6 separate regions of the Homo sapiens genome follow, and regions 1, 2, 4, 5 and 6 are each linked to region 3. Evidence: promoter capture Hi-C in human tissues and cell types (Jung and others, 2019). All regions are on one chromosome and are shown on one strand. Each heading gives the region's core, a stretch centred on a gene start or on the middle of the fragment in contact. The rest is flanking DNA. Distances are from core to core; before and after follow the strand shown.

Evidence for each region. The method cuts DNA at HindIII sites, captures the fragments that hold promoters and counts their contacts. A contact is called where the count stands out against the background at its distance.
Region 1: a contact is called between the fragment with the promoter of ZNF700 here and the fragment with the promoter of ZNF44 in region 3, in 1 of the 25 tissues and cell types used here (mesenchymal stem cells).
Region 2: a fragment that was not itself captured here is called in contact with the fragment with the promoter of ZNF44 in region 3 in 4 of the 25 tissues and cell types used here (aorta, dorsolateral prefrontal cortex, stomach and 1 more).
Region 4: the fragment with the promoter of ZNF440 here is called in contact with the fragment with the promoter of ZNF44 in region 3 in 4 of the 25 tissues and cell types used here (H1 embryonic stem cells, aorta, lymphoblastoid cells and 1 more).
Region 5: a contact is called between a fragment that was not itself captured here and the fragment with the promoter of ZNF44 in region 3, in 4 of the 25 tissues and cell types used here (dorsolateral prefrontal cortex, lymphoblastoid cells, pancreas and 1 more).
Region 6: the fragment with the promoter of JUNB here is called in contact with the fragment with the promoter of ZNF44 in region 3 in 1 of the 25 tissues and cell types used here (aorta).

What each region holds. Positions count from the first base shown.
Region 1 is chr19:11,923,420-11,926,808 of GRCh38, forward strand. ZNF700 (zinc finger protein 700) reads left to right here and starts at 1,688. Exons shown (of 4, transcript NM_144566.3): 1 at 1,688-1,854. The coding sequence starts at 1,792. It also overlaps a transcript of ZNF69 not described here. RefSeq lists enhancers at 1-384, 385-1,174, 1,331-1,903, 1,351-1,400, 1,451-1,560 and a silencer at 1,951-2,150. The HindIII fragment of the contact is 4,963 bases long and covers 1-3,389 here.
Region 2 is chr19:11,906,510-11,909,969 of GRCh38, forward strand. It overlaps ZNF69 (zinc finger protein 69), which reads left to right. Exons shown (of 4, transcript NM_001364730.1): 4 at 1-187. Among named protein-coding and RNA genes, the nearest start is that of ZNF700, 17 kb to the right of the region's middle. The HindIII fragment of the contact is 5,350 bases long and covers 1-3,460 here.
Region 3 is chr19:12,293,493-12,297,180 of GRCh38, forward strand. ZNF44 (zinc finger protein 44) reads right to left here and starts at 1,391. Exons shown (of 4, transcript NM_016264.4): 1 at 1,200-1,391. The coding sequence starts at 1,202. RefSeq lists a silencer at 946-1,175 and an enhancer at 1,726-1,775. The HindIII fragment of the contact is 22,646 bases long and covers 1-3,688 here.
Region 4 is chr19:11,812,536-11,815,907 of GRCh38, forward strand. It overlaps ZNF440 (zinc finger protein 440), which reads left to right and starts at 1,738. Exons shown (of 4, transcript NM_152357.3): 1 at 1,738-1,915. The coding sequence starts at 1,913. RefSeq lists silencers at 1,573-1,652, 2,073-2,142. The HindIII fragment of the contact is 18,958 bases long and covers 1-3,372 here.
Region 5 is chr19:11,941,878-11,945,496 of GRCh38, forward strand. The region is part of intron 1 of ZNF700 (zinc finger protein 700); the gene reads left to right. It also overlaps a transcript of ZNF69 not described here. Among named protein-coding and RNA genes, the nearest start is that of ZNF700, 19 kb to the left of the region's middle. The HindIII fragment of the contact is 3,474 bases long and covers 1-3,447 here.
Region 6 is chr19:12,789,396-12,793,136 of GRCh38, forward strand. It overlaps JUNB (JunB proto-oncogene, AP-1 transcription factor subunit), which reads left to right and starts at 2,091. Exons shown (of 1, transcript NM_002229.3): 1 at 2,091-3,741. The coding sequence starts at 2,377. The coding sequence ends at 3,420. It also overlaps a transcript of HOOK2 not described here. RefSeq lists silencers at 200-969, 1,830-2,409, 2,780-2,889, cis regulatory regions at 436-956, 1,796-2,350 and enhancers at 654-1,153, 1,454-2,065. The HindIII fragment of the contact is 17,444 bases long and covers 1-3,741 here.

The DNA.
Region 1 (3,389 bases), core at 438-2,937, 370 kb before region 3:
CACCCGACTCTCTCCTCCCTGAGTTTCCTGTCCTGGGAGCCCCCATCTCTGCTCTCCCGGGCTCCGGGCCCTAGAGCCGCACTGCTGCAGAGCCCAGTTCCCAGGGCAGCTCCCTCCACCTATCCACATCCATCTCCAGCTCTCCACCCTCTCTCCCACCAGCCTGGCCTGGAGGTGCTGCAGTGTCATTGACTGCGAGTCCCTCAGCTGCCACCTCCACCGCGATCTGGAAGTCTTTCAAATGCCCTTAAGTTATCTTAGATTTTTCCTCCCCCACTTTATACATAAGCATAGGAGGAGAGCAGGGACTCTGCTGGTGTCTTATTTACACAATGGGATTGAAGGTGTTTGTCTCGCGAAACTAATCGATGGGGTGAGAAGTAGCTGAATAACCTGCAGGGGGCAGCAGAGCCCAAGGCCAGTGATTCCACGTTGAGGACAGTCTCTGCAGCCTGCAAAGGGAGGGAAAGAGAGTTTCCCTGGGGGCTTCGCGGGCAGCCCACCCCCTTCTACAAGTGGCCTCCAGCTGCTCAGAGCAGCTCCAGAAAGGGTGTGGATTCCGAGAAGCTGCAGAGCCCTGGAAAGCAGAAGACCCATGTGCAGACGCATTTGTGGCGTCTCTGTCCTTTCTGGTGTTGTACCTCTGGAGCTGTCTTCTGGGCAGGGTTTGGGGTTTGACATGCATGGGGTCGTTGGGGTCAGAGTTATTTGTATAGATAAAGAAAATGTGTGGCCGGGCGCGGTGGCTCACGCCTGTAATCCCAGCACTTTGCGGGGCCGAGGCGGGCGGATCAAGAGGTCAGAAGATCGAGACCATCCTGGCTAACACGGTGAAACCCCGTCTCCACTGAAAATACAAAATATTAGCCGGGCGTGGTGGCGGGCGCCTTTAATCCCAGCTACTCCGGAGGCCGAGGTAAGAGAATGGCGTGAACTCGGGAGGCGGAGCTTGCAGTGAGTCGAGATCGCACCACTGCACTCCAGCCTGGGCTACAGAGCAAGACTCCGTCTCAAAAAAAAAAAAAAAAAAAGAAAGAAAGAAAAGAAAATGTGTGAAGATCAGGCTAGAGCTAGAGACAGAATTGTTTGGTGGCGTCACCTGGATAAAGGGTTCATGAAGTTGACAGTTTACTTAGGTCAGAAACAAAACCTGGTGAGAGTTTCCTGCTGGTGAAAATGAAGATCTGAAAGGAGGAAGCATTTTCACAAGGGGATGGGGGTGTGTGAGCAAGGCTTGGCCACGCCTCATCCCCAATTCCGGCCCGCTCGAGGACATATGCCTCTCCTCCTGGTGCAGTCGTGCCTGGCCTGGTCTCGGTTCCCCTGCTGCTCTGAGGCCAGCAGTTGGCTCCTATGGACACTGAGTCTGAAATTCCCTGCACACTCCTGTGACCCCGTGCAGAACGAAGGAGCGGGGACTGTCCCTTGAGTGAGGATGACGCTAGTGTTCTCTTCTATCAATAGCAAGTTTGGCTGAAATGCAAATATCCAATAACCAGAGTGCAGAAAGCAGCTCGCCCTTAGAGAAGCTGTGGCTAGAATCCGTCAGTCTGGCTCTGCGGGGCCTGATACCCAGGGCTTCAGCTGTCACTCAGATGTGGGGGGCGGGACCTAGTATTTCATCCAATCAGAGGTGCTGGGGCGTGGCACTGCCCACAGTTCATCCGGAAATGGAGGGGGTCGCTTTCCTCACCTTCCTCGCTGCGCGGGCGGCGGTTGGTAACCGGTCAGACCAGCCCGAGAGGGACCTGGTGCCTGTACCCAGGCTTCTGTCGCTCTGTCGCCTGCGCTATGCCCTGCTGTAGTCACAGGAGCTGTAGAGAGGACCCCGGTACATCTGAAAGCCGGGAAATGGTGCGTGTGCGGGACCAGATGTCGTGAGACGGGGGAGGGGCTGCCTGGAACAGGCGGGAACCGGCTGTGGCGGGACCCGGGCCTCCCTGTGGGCGACTCCGGGGTCTGGGACCGAGTCCTCCTTGAGCAGTTCGGCCCTCGGTCCCCTTGGCCGCTGGACGGGGCTGGGCCAGCAGCCAGGACCCGGGCGTCCTGTCCCGTCCCTGCGCGGCGACTGCGGCCGCGGCCCCTGCCCCGGAGCCCTCTCTGGGCAGTTCCGCTCCCGCAGCCCCGCGTCTCCCCAGATTGTGCGGAAGCAACGGGAGGGTCATGGAGGCATCCTGACTCGGGTGTGGGGTTCGTGCGTGGGAGGAGCAGTGGTCTGTGGGGCCCCCAGTCCCCACTTTCTCCTGTTAAAAATTAAACTGAGGTACGTTAACAATTAAAGAGTTCATTTGAGCAAACAGCGATTCACGAATGAGAAACACCCCGTCCTGGGTTGTGGTTTGTCAACGGAAAAAGCCAAACTATGTAAAATAAAGAAGTTTATTCAGAGCCGAATAGGAGAGACCTTGGCCGAGGGAAACACAACCCCAAGCAGCCTGGAGTAAGTGGTCCCGAGGCGGCTCAAGACAGTTTGGTTTTATTCATTTCAGAGAGACAGGAATTGCAGGGAAAATGATGAATCAGTGCCTGAAAGGTGTAAGTTCCATTGGCAGAAAGGGTGGGACCTGTGGAAGGGGGGTTAGAAGGCACAGGTGGTTGAGGGATTCTGTAGGTGGCAGCTGGTTGAGAGTGTGAAGTTTGTCTAAAGTTTGGAGGAGGTAGGAAGGAAGGGGGTCTGTTATCTGCCACTTGATTCCATCCCAGCCAGAAAACAGACCTGTTTCTCTAGATTTTATGAATTCTGAGGCGTGACTTTACTTTTGCCTTGCGTGGCCTTAGGTTTTGTTTGTAAGTTAGTATCTTCTTGCCACAAGCAGTCTGTTTTTCCATTCTATCTATTTTTACATGAATGTGTGGGAGAGGGTATAAGGAGACCTGTCTCACCTCCCATCCTGTCATACAGAGGCACTCAATTTTCAGGGTTTTTTGCGGGTCCTGTTGGCCAAGAGCCGGTCACTTCACTTAGCTGGAAAGGTACTTTGTTTTTATTTGAGACGGAGTCTCCTGTCGCCCAGACTGGAGTGCAATGGCCTGATCTCGGCTCACTGCAACCTCCACCTTCCGGGTTCAAGTGATTCTCCTGCCTCAGCCTCCTGAGTAGCTGGGATTGCAGGCATGCACCACTATGCCCTCCTAATTTTTGTATTTTTAGTAGAGATGGGGTTTCACCATGTTGGCCAGGCTGGTCTCGAACTCCTGACCTCAAGTGATCCACCCACCTCAGCCTCCCAAAGTGCTGGGATTACAGATGTGAGCCATCTCGCCGGGCCAGAGGTATGTTTTTATTTTTAGTTTACCAGTTTAGGGGTAAGCTTTTATAAGTTACGTGAGGAGACAAACCAGATAAATGCTTGATTGGTTGCAGAGATGCAGTTGCCTTATTTGGACTT
Region 2 (3,460 bases), core at 530-3,029, 390 kb before region 3:
GTTCTGCAATATTTGCTGTTCTGCAGCCCCTGCTGGTGATACCCAGGCAAACAGGGTCTGGAGTGGACCTCAAGCAAAATCCAACAGACCTCAGCTGAGGGTCCTGACTGTTAGAAGGAAAACTAACAAACAGAAAGGACAACCACACCAAAACCCATCTGTACATCACCATCATCAAAGACCAAAAGTAGATAAAACCACAAAGATGGGGAGAAACCAGAGCAGAAAAGCTGAAAATTCTAAACATCAGAGCGCCTCTTCTCCTCCAAAGGAACGCAGCTCCTCGCCAGCAATGGAACAAAGCTGGACTTTGACTTTGACGAGCTGAGAGAAGAAGGCTTCAGATGATCGGTAATAACAAACTTCTCCAAGCTAAAGGAGGATGTTCGAACCCATCACAAAGAAGCTAAAAACCTTGAAAAAAGATTAGACAAAATGGCTAACTAGAATAAACAGTGTAGAGAAGACCTTAAATGACCCGATGGAGCTGAAAACCATGGCACGAGAACTATGTGATGCATGCACAAGCTTCAGTAGCTGATTCAATCAAGTGGAAGAAAAGGTATCAGTAATTGAAGATCAAATGGATGAAATGAAGTGAGAAGAGAAGTTTAGAGAAAAAAGAGTAAAAAGAAATGAAAAAGCCTCCAAGAAATATGGGACTATGTGAAAAGACCAAATCTATGTCTGATTGGTGTACCTGAAAGTGACAGGGATGGAACCAAGTTGGGAAACACTCTTCAGGATATTATTCAGGAGAACTTCCCCAACCTAGCAAGGCAGACCAACATTCAAATTCAGGAAATACAGAGAACGCCACAAAGATACTCCTCGAGAGGAGCAACTCCAAGACACATAATTGTCAGATTCACCAAAGTTGAAATGAAGGAAAAAATGTTAAGGGCAGCCAGAGAGAAAGGTCGGGTTACCCACAAAGGGAAGCCCGTCAGACTAACAGCGGATCTCTTGGCAGAAACTCTACAAGCCAGAAAAGAGTGGGGGCCAATATTCAACATTCTTAAAGGAAAGAATTTTCAACCCAGAATTTCATATCCAGCCATACTAAGCTTCATAAGTGAAGGAGAAATAAAATCCTTTACAGATTCAAATGCTGAGAGATTTTGTCACCACCAGGCCTGCTGTAAAAGATCTCCTGAAGGAAGCACTAAACATGGAAAGGAACAACCGGTACCAGCCACTGCAAAAACATGCCAAATTGTAAAGACCATTGAGGCTAGGAAGAAACTGTATCAACTAACGAGCAAAATAACCAGTTAACATCATAATGACTGGATCAAATTCACACATAACAATATTAACCTTCAATGTAAATGGGCTAAATGCTCCAATTAAAAGACACAGACTGGCAAATTGGATAAAGAATCAAGACCCATCAGTGTGCTGTATTCAGGAGACCCATCTCACGTGCAGAGACATACATAGGCTCAAAATAAAGGGATGGAGGAAGATCTACCAAGCAAATGGAAAACAAACAAAAAAAGCAGGGGTTGCAATCCTAGTCTCTGATAAAACAGACTTTAAACCAACAAAGATCAAAAGAGACAAGGCCATTACATAAAGGTAAAGGGATCAATTCAACAAGAAGAGCTAACTATCCTAAATATTTATGCACCCAATACAGGAGCACTGAGATGCATAAAGCAAGTCCTTAGAGACCTACAAAGAGACTTAGACTCCCACACAATAATAATGGGAGACTTTAACATCCCACTGTCAACATTAGACAGATCAATGAGACAGAAAGTTAACAAGGATATACAGGAATTGAACTCAGCTCTGCACCAAGAGGACCTAATAGACATCTACAGAACTCTCCACCCCAAATCAACAGAATATACATTCTTCTCAGCACCACATCACACTTATTCCAAAATTGACCACATAGTTGGAAGTAAAGCACTCCTCAGCAAATGTAGAAGAATAGAAATTATAACAAACTGTCTCTCGGACCACAGAGCAATCAAACTAGAACTCAGGATTAAGAAACTCACTCTAAACCACTCAAATACATGGAAACTGAACAACCTGCTCCTGAATGACTACTGGGTACATAACAAATGAAGGCAGAAATAAAGATGTTCTTTGAAACCAATGAGAACAAAGACACAACATACCAGAATCTCTGGGACACATTTAAAGCAGTTTGTAGAGGGAAATTTATAGCACTAAATGCCCACAGGAGAAAGCAGGAAAGATGTAAAATTGACACCCTAACATCACAATTAAAAGAACTAGAGAGGCAAGAGCAAACACATTCAAAAGCTAGCAGAAGGCAAGAAATAACTAAGATCAGAGCAGAACTGAAGGAGACAGAGACAGAAAAAACCCTTCAAAAAATCAGTGAATCCAGGAGCTGTTTTTTTGAAAAGATCAACAAAATTGATAGACCGCCAGCAAGACTAATAAAGAAGAAAAGAGAGAAGAATCAAATAGATGCAATAAAAAATGATAAAGGGGATATCACCACCGATCCCACAGAAATACAAACTACCATCAGAGAGTACTATAAATACCTCTATGGAAATAAACTAGAAAATCTAGAAGAAATGGATAAATTCCTGGACACATACACCCTCCCAAGACTAAACCAGGAAGAAGTCGAATCCCTGAATAGACCAATAACAGGCTCTGAAATTGAGGCAATAATTAATAGACTACCAACCAAAAAAAGTCAAGGACCAGATGGATTCACAGCTGAATTCTACCAGAGGTACAAAGAGGAGCTAGTACCATTCCTTCTTAAACTATTCCAATCAATAGAAAAAGAGGGAATCCTCCCTAACTCATTTTATGAGGCCAGCAACATCCTGATACCAAAGCCTGGCAGAGACACAACAAAAAGAATTTTAGACCAATATACCTGATGAACATCGATGCAAAAATCCTCAATAAAATACTGGCAAACCAAATCCAGCAGCACATCAAAAAGCTTATCCACCACGATCAAGTTGGCTTCATCCCTGGGATGCAAGGCTGATTCAACATATGCAAAGCAATAAACGTAATCCATCATATAAACAGAACCAAAGACAAAAACCACAAGATTATCTGAATAGATGCAGAAAAGGCCTTCGACAAAATTCCACAGCCCTTTATGCTAAAAACTCTCAATAAACTGGGTATTGATGGGATGTATCTCAAAATAATAAGAGCTATTTATGACAAACCTACAGTCAATATCATATACTGAATGGGCAAAAACTGGAAGCATTCCCTTTGAAAACTGGCACAAGACAGGGATGCCCTCTCTCACCACTCCTATTCAACATAGTGTTGGAAGTTCTGGCCAGGGCAATCAGGAAGGACAAAGAACTAAAGGGTATTCAAGTAGGAAAAGAGGAAGTCAAATTGTCCCTGTTTGCAGATGACATGATTGTATATTTAGAAAACCCTATCATCTCAGCCCAAAATCTCCTTAAGCTGATAAGCAACTTCAGCA
Region 3 (3,688 bases), core at 141-2,640:
GTCAGGTGGTTATTCTCTTCTTCCTCACATGTGAAATGTTAAGGAAAACAAAATAAATCTGTTTAAAAAGAGCCATACATTGCTATCTGAAAACAAACGACAAAATTCTGTGTCTATTTGAAATATCGTCTTGCTGACAAAGGGTTCATAACGTTACTGGGAATTGAGGAGTGAAGTTAGCATATGGAAGGCTCTGGAAACCAAAAGATTTACTGTTAGCCCCAAGAGGAGTTAGGATGAAGGGACAGGTCTCAAAGACCCTGATGCCAATATCTTTGAAAGCCTCGGAGGAGAAATGGTCGCCCTTGGAAAGAAAGGACTGAAGAGCACAGAGACCACAGCTCCTCCCACACACAAACCCCACACACGAGTCTGGTTTGTGCCTAGTGACCCTCCCACCGTCACCGTGCAGCCTCCTCACCGGGCTCACAGGAACTGCGAGCCAGGCTGGAGGCGAGATTGCAGTTAGATATTAACCAGGTGCCCTCAGCCCCGCTGCTTCACAGGAAGCCGCCTCCCTGAGAGTCAGGTCACAGCAGACGCTGACCGCCGGCTTCCCCATTGGCCTGGGGATAAGATCTCTGAGAGTTGCTCAAGAGTCGTCTAAGTTCTTTCTCAGATCTTGAATTCCAGCGGAAAGGCTGGCGCCAAGCAGGCTGAAGACCCCACAAGGAAGCCCACTCAGCAGCAGAATGCGGTTTCTTCACCTCCAGTCCCAAGATTCACCCCTCACTTCTCCACCAACCAGCGACCCCACATCCCAACCACCCCCGTCCAGACCCCTAAACACCCCATCCTCAAACCTCTCACGGAGGCGGATCTAGGGTGTCCTCTCCTATTAAACCGTTTCTGCTGCAGCCCTCGGCGTCCGGGTGCAGTGACTTGGGCTGCGAACCTGTACTGGTTCCGCCGCACAATCTGGGGAGAAGCGGGGCTGAGGGCGCGGAGCTGCCCAGAGAGGGGCGCCGGGGCCGGGGCCGCAGTCGCAGCTCAGGGACGGGACAGGACGCCCGGGGTCCCGGCTGCCGGCCCAGCCCCACCCTGCGGCCAAACGGACCGAGGACCGAGGTGCGCAGGGGGCGCTCAGGTCCCAGACCCCAAAGACGCTGCGGCGAGGCCCGGGTCCCGCCACAGCCGGTTCCGACTGGTTCCGACCAGCCCTTCGCCCTGCCTCAGGACGCCGGGCCCCGCACACTCACCATTTCCCGGCTGTGCGGTGTCCCGGGTCCTCCCAACTCCCGTAGTCAGGGTAGGTCCCAGCGCGACAAAAGCCACCACAGATGTCCCAGGGCGTCTCTCAGTGACAGAATACGGAACAGAGGTCACCAGGGTGAAGAGGCCACTAGCTCCTGGAACGTCACACCCTCCTCTCTGCCTCGCGCCTGATTGACAATTCTCAGGAACCCGCCCACGACTTTGATTGGGTAGCCCTCCAGGTCCCGCCTCCTGGGCACTGAGTGACAGAAGAAGCGATCTCACAGTGCTGAGTGCAGCCGGATGAACAGGTTCCAGACCCGGCCCCTGGCAGGGCGGGCTTCCTCCCTGCGTTGTGACCCGACCCGTCCCGGGAAACGTTTGCCTTAAAGCGGAATTTCCTACCTGTACGCAGTGGGCCCTTTTTGCTTCTTCCTCCTGAACAATTGTGTGCAAGGAATCCCAGACTCACTGTCCAGTGGAGCCATCCCTTGGCCTCAGAGCAGGAGGGCAGCCGAGGCCACACAGGCCACACTGTAGCAGCGGGGGACAGGGGGTGGGTGGGTGGGGGGGTGGTGCTGATGTCCTCCAGGGACCAGGAATTTGGGATGAGGCTGTCGCCTGCAAGGTCAAGCCTTTCTTCCACTATAAGCGCTGGATGGGTTCTTTCTGCGCGCTACGCAAATAAAGACCACGGTATTGCAGTTAAAAAAAAAGTTTAATAAACACTAGGCCAGCTACGATACGTGAGAGACGGAGTTACTACTCAAATTATTCTCATCCAAGGTCCTCTGGTAGGGGTTTTTCAAGGGCAGTTTGGGAGAAAGGGTGGAGGTAGCTAGGCTTGCTACTGACTGGTTGGGGTGGGGATGAAATCACTGGGGATGGAATCTGTCCTCTTGGCAGTGCGTGGTGGCTCACCGCTGTAATCCCAATACTTTGGGAGGCCTAGGTGGGAGGATCGCTTGAGGCCAGTAGTTCAAGACCAGCCTGGACATAGAGTGAAACTCCGTCTCTATACTATAAGGGAGGAGACCACCCCTCATATTGTCTTATGCCCAATTTCTGCCTCCAAAGAAGAAGTAAAAACTAAAAGGCAGAAATGAAATCCACAGGCAGATAACCCGGCTTGTGCCCTGGGCTGGGTAGTTAAAAATCAACCTCTGACCTAACTGTGTTATCTATGATTCCAGACATTGTATGGAAAAGCACTGTGAAAATCCCTGTCCTGTTCTGTTCAGTTCTGGTTACCGGTGCATGCAGCCCCCAGTCACGTACCCACTGTTTGCTCCATCAATCACGACCCTCTCACGCGGACTCCTAGTTGTAAGCCCTTAAAAGGGACAAGAATTGCTCACTCGGGGAGCTCGGTTTTTGGAGACGTGAGTCCGCCGATGCTCCCAGCCCAGCTGAATAAAGCCCTTTCCTTCCACAACTCGGTGTCTGAGGGGTTCTTGTCTGCGGCTTGTACTGCTACATATTTAAAAAAGAAAAAAAGAGGCCGGGCCCGGTGGCTCACACCTGTAATCCCAGAACTTTGGGAGGCCCAGGCGGGCGGATCACCTGAGGTCGGGAGTTTGAGACCAGCCTGACCAACATGGAGAAAGCTCGTCTCTACTAAAAATACAAAATTAGCTGGGCGTGGTGGCACATGTCTGTAATCCCAGCTACCTGGGAGGCTAAGGCGGGAGAATCACTTGAACCCGGGAGGTGGAGGTTGCGGTGAGCTGAGATCGCGCCAAGCCGAGATCGTGCCTTTGCACTCCAGCCTGGGCAACAAGAGCGAAACTCCGTCTCAAAAAAAAACAAAAAAAAGACAAAAAAAAAAAAAACCTATCCTGTTATGCTGAATCACTTCTGGTTGGGGCCACAGGAGCAGAGTTGGCAGGTGCAGGTGGTGTCAGACATGCAAAAAAAAAACAAACAAACAAACAAAAACTGAAAATACGTCTACAAATGCTAATCTACAATAGTGGTGTTATCTGCAGAAATAGCTGGCAATCTATGTCTACACTTTAGCAGCATTCCGATTCCTTTCATCCCTCAGCCTGATGGCCATTCATTCGTTTTACAAAGGCAGTTGAGTTTTGGGGAAGGCTTATTATCATTTAAGCTATCTTCCAAAGTTAGCTGTGCCTAAGAGCCCAGGATTAAGGGAAAGAGAAGACAGAGGGTTGGCAGGGGCGGGGGGCGGGGCGGGGCAGAACGGGTGTTGGCTCAGATCTCTTCCACTGCCATAATTTTCTCACTGATATAATTTTTTTGCGATCTATTCATTTTCATCCCAGAAAATAAAAACACATCAACAATGAAATGAAATTGTTAAATGTGTGAAAAAACTGGAATTATAGGGCAGCATGGTTGTTTTTTTTTTGTTTTATTTTGTTGTTTTTGTTTTTGTTGTTGTTGTTTTTGAGATAGAGTCTCACTCTGTTGCCCAGGCTTGAGTGTAGTGGCGCGATCTCGGCCCACTGCAACCTCCGACTCCCAGGTT
Region 4 (3,372 bases), core at 488-2,987, 480 kb before region 3:
CAACACTTTCTACCTTTACATAAGGTACAAAACTGCCTCAGAAATCATCTGACCATGTGTCCCGGTTTGCCAGTGATAATCCTTGATAGTACCTGTTGTCCCAACATAGTTTTTCATAGCACCTCATCTTGCCATGGTTATCTGTGTCTGAACAATGAATATGTATGAATACTTTCACACATAAGCAAAATTAGGTTTATTAAATGAAGTTTCCAGGAATGTTCAAATTTCAACACCTGATTTACCTTATCACAAGTTATGGCTGTGCTAATTTCTCCAGGAAATATTCACAGAATATTGAATTTATCATTGTAAGGTGTGGAGCAATGAAGATGCCCAAGAGGCCAGGCGCACACCTGTAATCCCAACACTTTGGGAGGCTGAGGCTGGAGGATCACTTAAGCTCAGGAGTTTGAGATCAACCTGAACAACCGAATGAGACCTCATCTCTACCAAAAATAAAAAACTAGCCAGGCATGGTGGCAGGCACTTGTAGTCCCACCTACTTAGGAGGCTGAGGTGGGAGGATTGCTTGAGTCTGGGAGGTTGAGGCTGCATTGAGTAGCCATCGCACCACTGCACTCCAGCTTGGGCGACAGAGTGAGACCCCGTCTCAAAAAAAGATGGCTAAAACATAATTTTTTTTTTTTTGAGATGGAGTCTCACTGTGTCTCAGGCTGGAATGCAGTGGCACGATCTTGGCTCACTGCAAACTCTGCCTCCCGGTTCAAGCAATTCTCCTGCCTCAGCCTTTCAAGTAGCTGGGATTACAGGCATGCGCCACCATTCCTGGCTAATTTTTGTATTTTTAGTAGAGATAGGATTTCACCATGTTGGCCAGGCTGGTCTTGAACTCCTGACCTCGTGATCCACCTGCCTCAGCCTCTCAAAGTGCTGGGATTACAGGCATGAGCCACCGCGCCCGGCCTGCCTAAATCATAATTTCTATGACAGAATTTCTCATTTACAGCTTCCCCTGAGACCATCTTTCATTTCAGTTAACCCTGCTCCTTGGGGGTTATATGTGAGATAAAAGTGCCATGCTATATCATGTTCCCTGGCTCAGTCCTACACAGCATGTCCTGAAAAATGGGTCTTCAGTCACTGTCAATGCACCAGGGATAGATATACATAGTACTGAGAGCCTCTAAATCTTTAATAAGTTCTGGCTTGGTTAGCTCCCTTACAAGGAAAACCTTGCTGGAGTCCATAGCAGTGTGAGGAAGCCTTGGCCATGCCTCATCCCATTTCCCGCACGCTGGAAGACATCTGCCTCTCTCTCCTGGTGCAGTCGTGCCTTGCCTGGTCTGGGCTCCCCTCCTGCTCTGAGGCAAGCGTATCTCTCCATTGAACACTGAGTCTGAAATGCCCTGCACACACTTGTGATCCCGTGCAGAAGGAAGGAGCAGGGACAGCCCCTTGAATGAGGAAGCTAACAGTGCCTCTTCTAACAATAAGGAGCAAGTCGCCTTGAAATGCAAATATCTGATGACCAGGGCTCAAGGAAGGCGCTCGCTTAGAGAGGCTGTTCGCTTAGAGAGGCTGCTCGCTTAGAGAGGCTGCTCGCTCAGAGACGCTGTGGCCAGAACAAGTCAGACATGATCTGCAGGACCCGGTTACCCAGGGCTTCTGCTGTCACTCAGCACGGAGGAGGCGGGGCCTGGCGCCCCATCCAATCAGGGGTGCTGGGGCGGGGCCCTGTCAACTGTCCATCCGGGGAAGGGGGAAGGGACAGTCGCCCTCCGTCCATTCCTTTAGTGCTGCGCCGACAGCGGTCAGGATCTCGGCTTTCTTGCTTCGAGAGGGACTAGGTGCCTCCACCAGAGCTTCTGTCGCTCTGTAACCTGCACTGTGACCTACACTAGTCGCGGGAGCCACGCAGAGGACGCCGGAACACCCTGGAAGCCGAGAAATGGTGTGTGTGAGGGGGCTGGCGTCCGGGCGACTGGGAGAGGGGCTGGAATCGGCCGGAACCGGCTGAGGCGGGACCCGGGCCTCCACGCGGCGACTCCGGGGTCGTGGACGCGAGTCCCCTCGGTCGCAGGGTGGGGCTGGGCCGGCAGCCGGGACCCCGGGCCTCCTGTCCCGTCCCTTCACGGCGACTGCGGCCCCGGCTCCGGAGCCTAATCTGGGCAGCTCCGCGTCTCCCCACATTATGCGGGGGCCACGGGAGGGATATGGGGGGATCCCGCCTCGGATATGGGGTTTGTTAGAAACAAGTGCCCGGTGCCGCAAAGAAAACCAGCATCTAGGCAGAAAATTCCTCAGCAAAGCAAATTTATTTCTACACAAGGGTGCAGCTTGCGCCAGTCACAAGAGCACAGCGAGCGGGGTAGGGCAGGGGTTTTTCTCCTTAACGCAGTTTCTAGCACTTCTGTGTCCTTTCCTCATTGGCTAGGGTTGGACCTCACAATCTAAACTAACTCGATAGGCTAAGGTTTAAAATTAAATAGGGTCTGGCCAGGCGCGGTGGGTCACGCCTGTAACCCCAGCACTTTGGGAGGCCGAGGCAGGCGGATCGCGAGGTCAGGAGATCGAGACCATCCCTGGCTAACACGGTGAAACCCCGTCTCCACTAAAAATACAAAAAAATTAACTGGGTATGGTGGCGGGCGCCTGTAGTTCCAGCTACTCGGGAGGCTGAGGCAGGAGAATGGCGTGAACCCGGGAGGTGGAGCTTGCAGTGAGCCGAGATCGCACCACTGTACTCCAGCCTGGGCAACAGAGCGAGACAACTGGGCAACTCCGTCACACACACACACACACACACACACACACACACACACACACAAATTAAATAGGGTCTATGAGACGGGAAGGAACAGGGACTGTCCGTTACTAGGCGGGAAGGCGTATCTGGACTTGTCTGGGCGCGGCAAAAGCGGGAAGGTTGTTTACAGAACAGGTAGCTAGGAGACAAGGAAGTCGGTCTCAAGAAACAAAGAACAGCTTACTAAAGCTTTTAGAAAAGTAATTTATCATCTCTGACAGGTTCGTGTGGGAGGAGTAGCGGTCTTTGGGGTCCCCAGTGCCCACTTTTTTCTGTTAAAAATTAAACTGAGGTACGTTAACAATTAAAGAGTTTAGGGCCGGGCGCGGTGGCTCACGCCTGTAATCCCAGCACTTTGGGAGGCCGAGGCGGGCGGATCAGGAAGTCAGGAGTTCAAGACCAGCCTGGCCAACATGGTGAAACCCCATCTCTACTAAAAATACAAAAATTAGCTGGGCATGGTGGCGCGTGCCTGTAATCCCAGCTACTTGAGAGGCTGAGGCAGAAGAATTGCTTGAACCCAGGAGGCGGCGGTTGCAGTCAGCCAAGACGGCGTCACTCCAGCCTGGCAACAGAGCCAGACTCCATCTCAAAACAACAAC
Region 5 (3,619 bases), core at 461-2,960, 350 kb before region 3:
CATTTTGTTTATCCATTCAGCCGTCAGTGGATATGTGGGTGGCTGCATTGCTCATTACTGCCACCCCAGGAAGGTTGTATAGTGGTTGAATCTGTGCTTATTACACCTGGTATCTCTTAGGAGTTTCTCGTTTGGCCTCTTGTGCACTTAGGGTGCCAGGTTTTGCTTAGGAATGTCCCCTTTCCTTTGCCCTTCTTACCAGCATCTATCTAGCTGCATTCTGACAGGATAACTGCAAAGTGAATGATTCCTGGGCATCATAATGGATGTTTCTTTCTACTTAGGTGTTTCCCCTCCTCTCTGCTTATATCTAGCATGCCTGTTTTGGGTGGTCCCTGGGGGTGTGGGCTTTCCCCTGGACTTCCCCTCCTGCTCTTGGCTAGCTATCTGCCTTCTCTAACAATGTCATCAAAGATTACACTTTGGGAACAGGCATTTTCAAGGAAACACAGCCTCAGGACTGCTAATGTTAACTTTTTTCTGCCTATTAATTCATAGGACTCCGTTATGACAGGTGCTACAGACCCACAGTCCAAAGAGACATTAGGGACAGCCCAGGCAGCTCGTTTTTCTCCCTGGATTTGTAGCAGGACAAGCCGCAGACAAAACCTCTCAGACACTGGGTTAGAGAAGGAAGTGGCTTTATTCGGCCAGGAGCGTCAGCAGACTTGCGTCTTAAAAACCGAGCTCCCAGAGAGAGAGAAATTCCTGCCCCTTTTGAAGGCTTACACAGGGATCCACATGAAAGGATCGTGATCAATTAAACAAGGATGGAGTGTGTAATTGGGGCTGCATGCATCGGTAACAGGACAGAGCAGAACAGAAAGACTTTCACAGTGCTTTCTCATACAATGTCTGGAATCTATAGATAATACAAGTGGTTAGGTCAGGAGTTGATTTTTAACTACCAGGCCTGGGGTGTGGCACCGGGCTGTCTGACTATTGATCTCATTTCTGCCTTCCTTTAACTTTTGCTTCCTCTTTCTTGTTCTGAGGTATGAGACAATAAGAGAGGTGGTCTCCTTCCTTATTCCCCCCTTTGAGAATCTCACTTATTAATGGGAGTTCTCACTTTCATCCTTACTACCTAGGTCTTCCTGCAAGACAGATCAATAGTGGTTAATGTAATACACTTGTGCTGAAACATTTTGGTGGACCAAGGTAGTGACAAAGCTTCTCATTATTTGAAGGAGCACAGGTAGCAAGCAGGGGAGTAACAAGCAGGTTTCTATTATTATTATTATTTCTATTATAAGTGTTTTAAATCCTCCTAGTGCTGGAAACCATTTTCCAAATACAGATTTAGGATTAAACCCATGCCAAAGCTGTACAGGCACATGTGCCAACTTTGTTATGTCCTTAACTATGTTTTTGACTACTTGCCCTTGATTATTTATATGCAGACAGCAATTGGTTAGGTTAAATTTTCCATAGACCCCTCCTTTAGCTGCTAGCAAGTAGTCTAGGGCCAGTCTATTTTGATAGATAGCATTTTTCATCTGGGTTTCTTACCGGGCTAAAACAGTTAAAGCTCTGCCAGTTTTAGTAGTGATTATTTCTAAGATAGCTTGTAACCATATGATCCGGTTGAGCATGTAAATGGGGGTCTCTTTTTTTTCTGTTTTAGCTATTTTTTTTACTTCTATTACCTAGAAAAGAACTAGTTTTTAAATCTTATTTCAAAGACTGTGATCATGGGAGGCTCAGATGGGTTATGGTACACATCAGGTCGGGCATTTCCTGGGTTACACACTTTGTACTGAGTGGTGTTATACAGGCAAGTTCCTTTTAAAGTTCCTAGGCATTCATAATAACTAGAAAACCGAAAGATTGTTTTAACTTGTTGCCCTACCTCAGTAACCTGATGAATACACTGGGAACAATCTTCCATGTGGGGAAAATCAGTTGAAGTCCTTATTCTACAAGTCCAAATTTTAAGGAGAATAAGTCCCATGATGAGTTTCCTCATGCTTTGGCCGCACATAGACCAGTCAGCTTCCAGGTGTGACAGGAGCAGGGCTTGTCGTCTTTTTCAGAGTCACTTTGCAGGGGTTTTCCAGGTTTGGTCCTGCCTCCCAGGAGCTGCAGGTTTTACATGACTGTGGTGGATCCAGGCCGGGATTCCCTCTACCTTCACGGTGGTGTGAGTGGTCTGTGGTCCCTTCCACCATGGGCACAAGGGGGCTACATTCCAGTCCTTGATCCACACTCTATTACCTGGGGAGAAAGGGTGAACTGGGGAGAATAAGCTAATGGGGCGTTTCTCGTTTACCTAGGCTGAGATTGTTCGTGTAATTTTTCGTAAGGCCTGTAGCTGTCGCTGTAACTTAATTTCACCTAATTCTCAGGGAGTGCCTGGAAGTCCCCATACTATGGGAGGAGGGCTATGATATAATATTTCATAAGGGGAATATCCTGTTTTTCTAGAAGGGGTAAATTTAATCTTAATACCACAGGGAGAGCTTGTACACACTTTAATCCTGTTTCTTGACACACTTTCCCTAAACTATTTTTGATAGTCCAATTCATCCACTCCACCTTTCCGGAACTCTGAGGTTGGTAGGCAGCATGCAGTATCCATGTGATCCCCAATACCTTTGCTGTCTTCTGTACCAAGTCAGCCACAAACGCTGGCCTGTTATCTGAGCCAATTCGTAAGGGCAGTTCAAACCTAGGAATAAGATCTTGAAGAAGCACACGGGTTACTTCACCAGCTTTCTCAGTTCGCGTTGGATAAGCTTCCACCCACCCAGAGTATGTACACACAAGAACTAGTAAATACTTGTTATCTTCACATTTTGGCATTTCTGTGAAGTCTACCTGCAGATCTTCAAAGGGGGCTGCTCCATAAGCTTGTATGCCAGCCGGGACGGTTGGACCCTGCCTTGCATTGTGTTGTTGGCAGGTAATACATCGCTGTGCCACTGTTTCAGCAAGGGCTGATAAATGTGAGATGTAGAAGTACCGGCTTAACAACTTTTGAAGTGACTCCTGGCCTAGATGGGTGGTTTTATGCACAGCCAGTATGACTGTGGCTCCCAGCAGCTGTGGCACAGCTACTCTCCCATCCAGTAACCACATCCATCCTTCTTCCATCACCTGTCCTCCCTCTGCCTGGAGAAAGTCCTTTTCTTCTTTAGAATAAGTGGGTACAAGGTAGGCCACTGGCCTTGGCCAGGGCCCCACAGTCTGGGTTAGAACTCCAACTGCCTTTTTTTCTTTTTCTGACACAGTGTAAAAGGCTTTGTTAGATTAGGTAGCCCCAGGGCTGGGACTGACATAAGTTTTTCCTTTAACTCATGAAAGGCTCACTGTTGTTGGGATTCCCATTCAAAAGGTTCCCAGCACCCCTCTTTGTGACCCCATATAGAGGTTTGGCCAGTACTGCAAAGTTTGGGATCCACAGTCTGCAGAACCCTACTGCTCCTAAGAATTCTCTCACCTGCCTTCTGGTTTTAGGTTGCAATAGGCTGCAGATGACCTGCTTTCTTTCTGAGCTTGATTGACCAAGCACAAGTCCTGTACTGGCCTGTAGTTCTTGGTCCCTGGCTTGGGAACAGGCAGGAGGGTAGTGTTCCATGGAGACTGGCAAAGGACTATAATTCCAAAGGCTCTCAAG
Region 6 (3,741 bases), core at 841-3,340, 500 kb after region 3:
TGACTCGGGGAGGGAAGCTCTCAGATGACAGAGCTACTCTAGGGAAGGAGGGGGGCTCCCTCTAGGTATTCTGGATGATAGTAGGATGGGACCTGCAGACTAAAACGAGAGTGGGGCCCCTGACTCACATGAGTGAGTGGGGGGTGTTGGGGACGGAGCTCCAGATCTCCTGGCAGAAGGGAAGGGCACCCCACCCGAGGGAGGAGGCAGCCGCCGTTCCAGCCCGCCCAGGCGCCGGGGGCGCCTCGAGGCATCGGCCCGCCCTCTCCGCGCCCCGTCGGGCCGGGGGCGAAGTCCGACCCAGGCCCGCGGGCAGGCGGGGACCTGCCGGGCTGGGTTGGGCCAGGCCGGGCCTGGCAGGACGCAGCCCCAAAGCGGCGGGGTGGGGCGGGGCCGGGCCAGGCGGCCGTGGGGGCCCCGGGGGCGGCGGTCGGGGCTGGTCGGGACTAGCAGTCTGGGGGCCCAGGCGCGCCCTGGGACCTGGCAGATAGTCGGGTTCCCCGCTTCTGGCTCGGGGCCCCAGGACAGCGCTGGTCCCACCTCTTCCTGTGCCCTAATATGGGCGGCGGGGAGAGACTTCGGGGGCCGGCCCGCGCTCAGTCCTGCCCGCGGACTCCCGCCTGTTGCCATGGCGACCAGGCCCCGCTCCTCGGCTGCGTCCCCCGCCGTCGGGCCAATGGAACACTCCCCAAGCCGCCTGCCTCCGCGGTCCCCTGCAGGCACCGCGGGCGGAACCATTGCTTGAGGGGAGAGGATGGTGGCTGGAGGCTGCCGCGGCTGGGCGGGCTCCAAGCACCCGGGCCTCCGCGGGGGCTCGCACGCCCAGGTTCCTCTTCCGAGGCGCAGGATGCGGCGGGACCCAGGGCGGGGCGCACGGTCCCGTAGGATCCGAGTGACGGAGACAGGGCCGGGCTCCTTCCCCCGGGGCTGTTGCCACACTTCCTGCCTCTGCGCTCTTTCCCCAGCCTGTTTCTAAGGAAGGGAGTGGGGTTGGGCGACCGCGCCCCAGCCGTCGGGCTGGGTCCAGGCTCTAGGAGCCGACACGGTGTTGGGCAAAGCCCAGGGTCAATAGGGGAGGGTTTTAGGATGGGGGACAGAGAATACAGATGACTAAGAGGTTACCATCGAGGGGGAGCAGCAGTCGTGGAAGATCCAGCAGTCCTGGTGCGCGGGACCCTCAAGGCCCCCTCCTCACATGTCAACTGAGTACCCTCTTATTGTCTTCTCTGCTCCGAAGATGTGTCCGGCCCCTTCTAACTCTCTCCTTCATCCGGGCTAGCAGATGACCCCAGTGGTCCCCAATTTCTGGCAGACATGTCTCCATCTTCTACCTGGCATATTTTACCTGCCTCAGTGTACCCCAGGCCGCTTACTAGCTTTCTGCATATCTAGACTTCCCCTAATGCCTCCTTCCCGCTTACGGGAGAGCCTCAGACTCTGGACTCAGCTCCCATGAGCTCCTGGACCCCTACTCATTTCTTGCAATTTAATGGGTCATGCAGCTCCACCCACTCACCCCTTTTGATCTCTCCCCTCCTCCGTCCTGTGAAAATTCCAGTCCCGCATCCTTCTGAGCCCGGGACCCCCAGTCAATTCCTGGGTCAGGTGTCTCCTTAACCCTCCCGATTTACAGTGCTTAACCCTCATTTCTGCTTTTTGGGGTCTCCCAATGGATTGTCAGTCCTCCTACCCCTCTCGTATTCTGGGTACCTCAGGGGTTTCTTCGCACATACTGGGACCCTCACCCCACTTGCTGCGTACCAGGTCCTGGTATTTGTCCCAGTGGACTCCAGGGAAATCATCCTCCTCCCTGAAACCCCTCACTCATGTGCCTGGGCCCCCCAGCACCTCCTTCCATGCGTACCCCGAGGTCCTTTGAGCCCCTCCCCCTGCAGCCCCGCCGAGCCACCCGGCCCGTGGCCGCTGTTTACAAGGACACGCGCTTCCTGACAGTGACGCGAGCCGCCTCCTCCCCTTCCCCACGCTCGAGGAGGGGGGCGCGGGGGCCCGGCTCCGGCGACGGCCAATCGGAGCGCACTTCCGTGGCTGACTAGCGCGGTATAAAGGCGTGTGGCTCAGGCTGAGCGGCTGGGACCTTGAGAGCGGCCAGGCCAGCCTCGGAGCCAGCAGGGAGCTGGGAGCTGGGGGAAACGACGCCAGGAAAGCTATCGCGCCAGAGAGGGCGACGGGGGCTCGGGAAGCCTGACAGGGCTTTTGCGCACAGCTGCCGGCTGGCTGCTACCCGCCCGCGCCAGCCCCCGAGAACGCGCGACCAGGCACCCAGTCCGGTCACCGCAGCGGAGAGCTCGCCGCTCGCTGCAGCGAGGCCCGGAGCGGCCCCGCAGGGACCCTCCCCAGACCGCCTGGGCCGCCCGGATGTGCACTAAAATGGAACAGCCCTTCTACCACGACGACTCATACACAGCTACGGGATACGGCCGGGCCCCTGGTGGCCTCTCTCTACACGACTACAAACTCCTGAAACCGAGCCTGGCGGTCAACCTGGCCGACCCCTACCGGAGTCTCAAAGCGCCTGGGGCTCGCGGACCCGGCCCAGAGGGCGGCGGTGGCGGCAGCTACTTTTCTGGTCAGGGCTCGGACACCGGCGCGTCTCTCAAGCTCGCCTCTTCGGAGCTGGAACGCCTGATTGTCCCCAACAGCAACGGCGTGATCACGACGACGCCTACACCCCCGGGACAGTACTTTTACCCCCGCGGGGGTGGCAGCGGTGGAGGTGCAGGGGGCGCAGGGGGCGGCGTCACCGAGGAGCAGGAGGGCTTCGCCGACGGCTTTGTCAAAGCCCTGGACGATCTGCACAAGATGAACCACGTGACACCCCCCAACGTGTCCCTGGGCGCTACCGGGGGGCCCCCGGCTGGGCCCGGGGGCGTCTACGCCGGCCCGGAGCCACCTCCCGTTTACACCAACCTCAGCAGCTACTCCCCAGCCTCTGCGTCCTCGGGAGGCGCCGGGGCTGCCGTCGGGACCGGGAGCTCGTACCCGACGACCACCATCAGCTACCTCCCACACGCGCCGCCCTTCGCCGGTGGCCACCCGGCGCAGCTGGGCTTGGGCCGCGGCGCCTCCACCTTCAAGGAGGAACCGCAGACCGTGCCGGAGGCGCGCAGCCGGGACGCCACGCCGCCGGTGTCCCCCATCAACATGGAAGACCAAGAGCGCATCAAAGTGGAGCGCAAGCGGCTGCGGAACCGGCTGGCGGCCACCAAGTGCCGGAAGCGGAAGCTGGAGCGCATCGCGCGCCTGGAGGACAAGGTGAAGACGCTCAAGGCCGAGAACGCGGGGCTGTCGAGTACCGCCGGCCTCCTCCGGGAGCAGGTGGCCCAGCTCAAACAGAAGGTCATGACCCACGTCAGCAACGGCTGTCAGCTGCTGCTTGGGGTCAAGGGACACGCCTTCTGAACGTCCCCTGCCCCTTTACGGACACCCCCTCGCTTGGACGGCTGGGCACACGCCTCCCACTGGGGTCCAGGGAGCAGGCGGTGGGCACCCACCCTGGGACCTAGGGGCGCCGCAAACCACACTGGACTCCGGCCCTCCTACCCTGCGCCCAGTCCTTCCACCTCGACGTTTACAAGCCCCCCCTTCCACTTTTTTTTGTATGTTTTTTTTCTGCTGGAAACAGACTCGATTCATATTGAATATAATATATTTGTGTATTTAACAGGGAGGGGAAGAGGGGGCGATCGCGGCGGAGCTGGCCCCGCCGCCTGGTACTCAAGC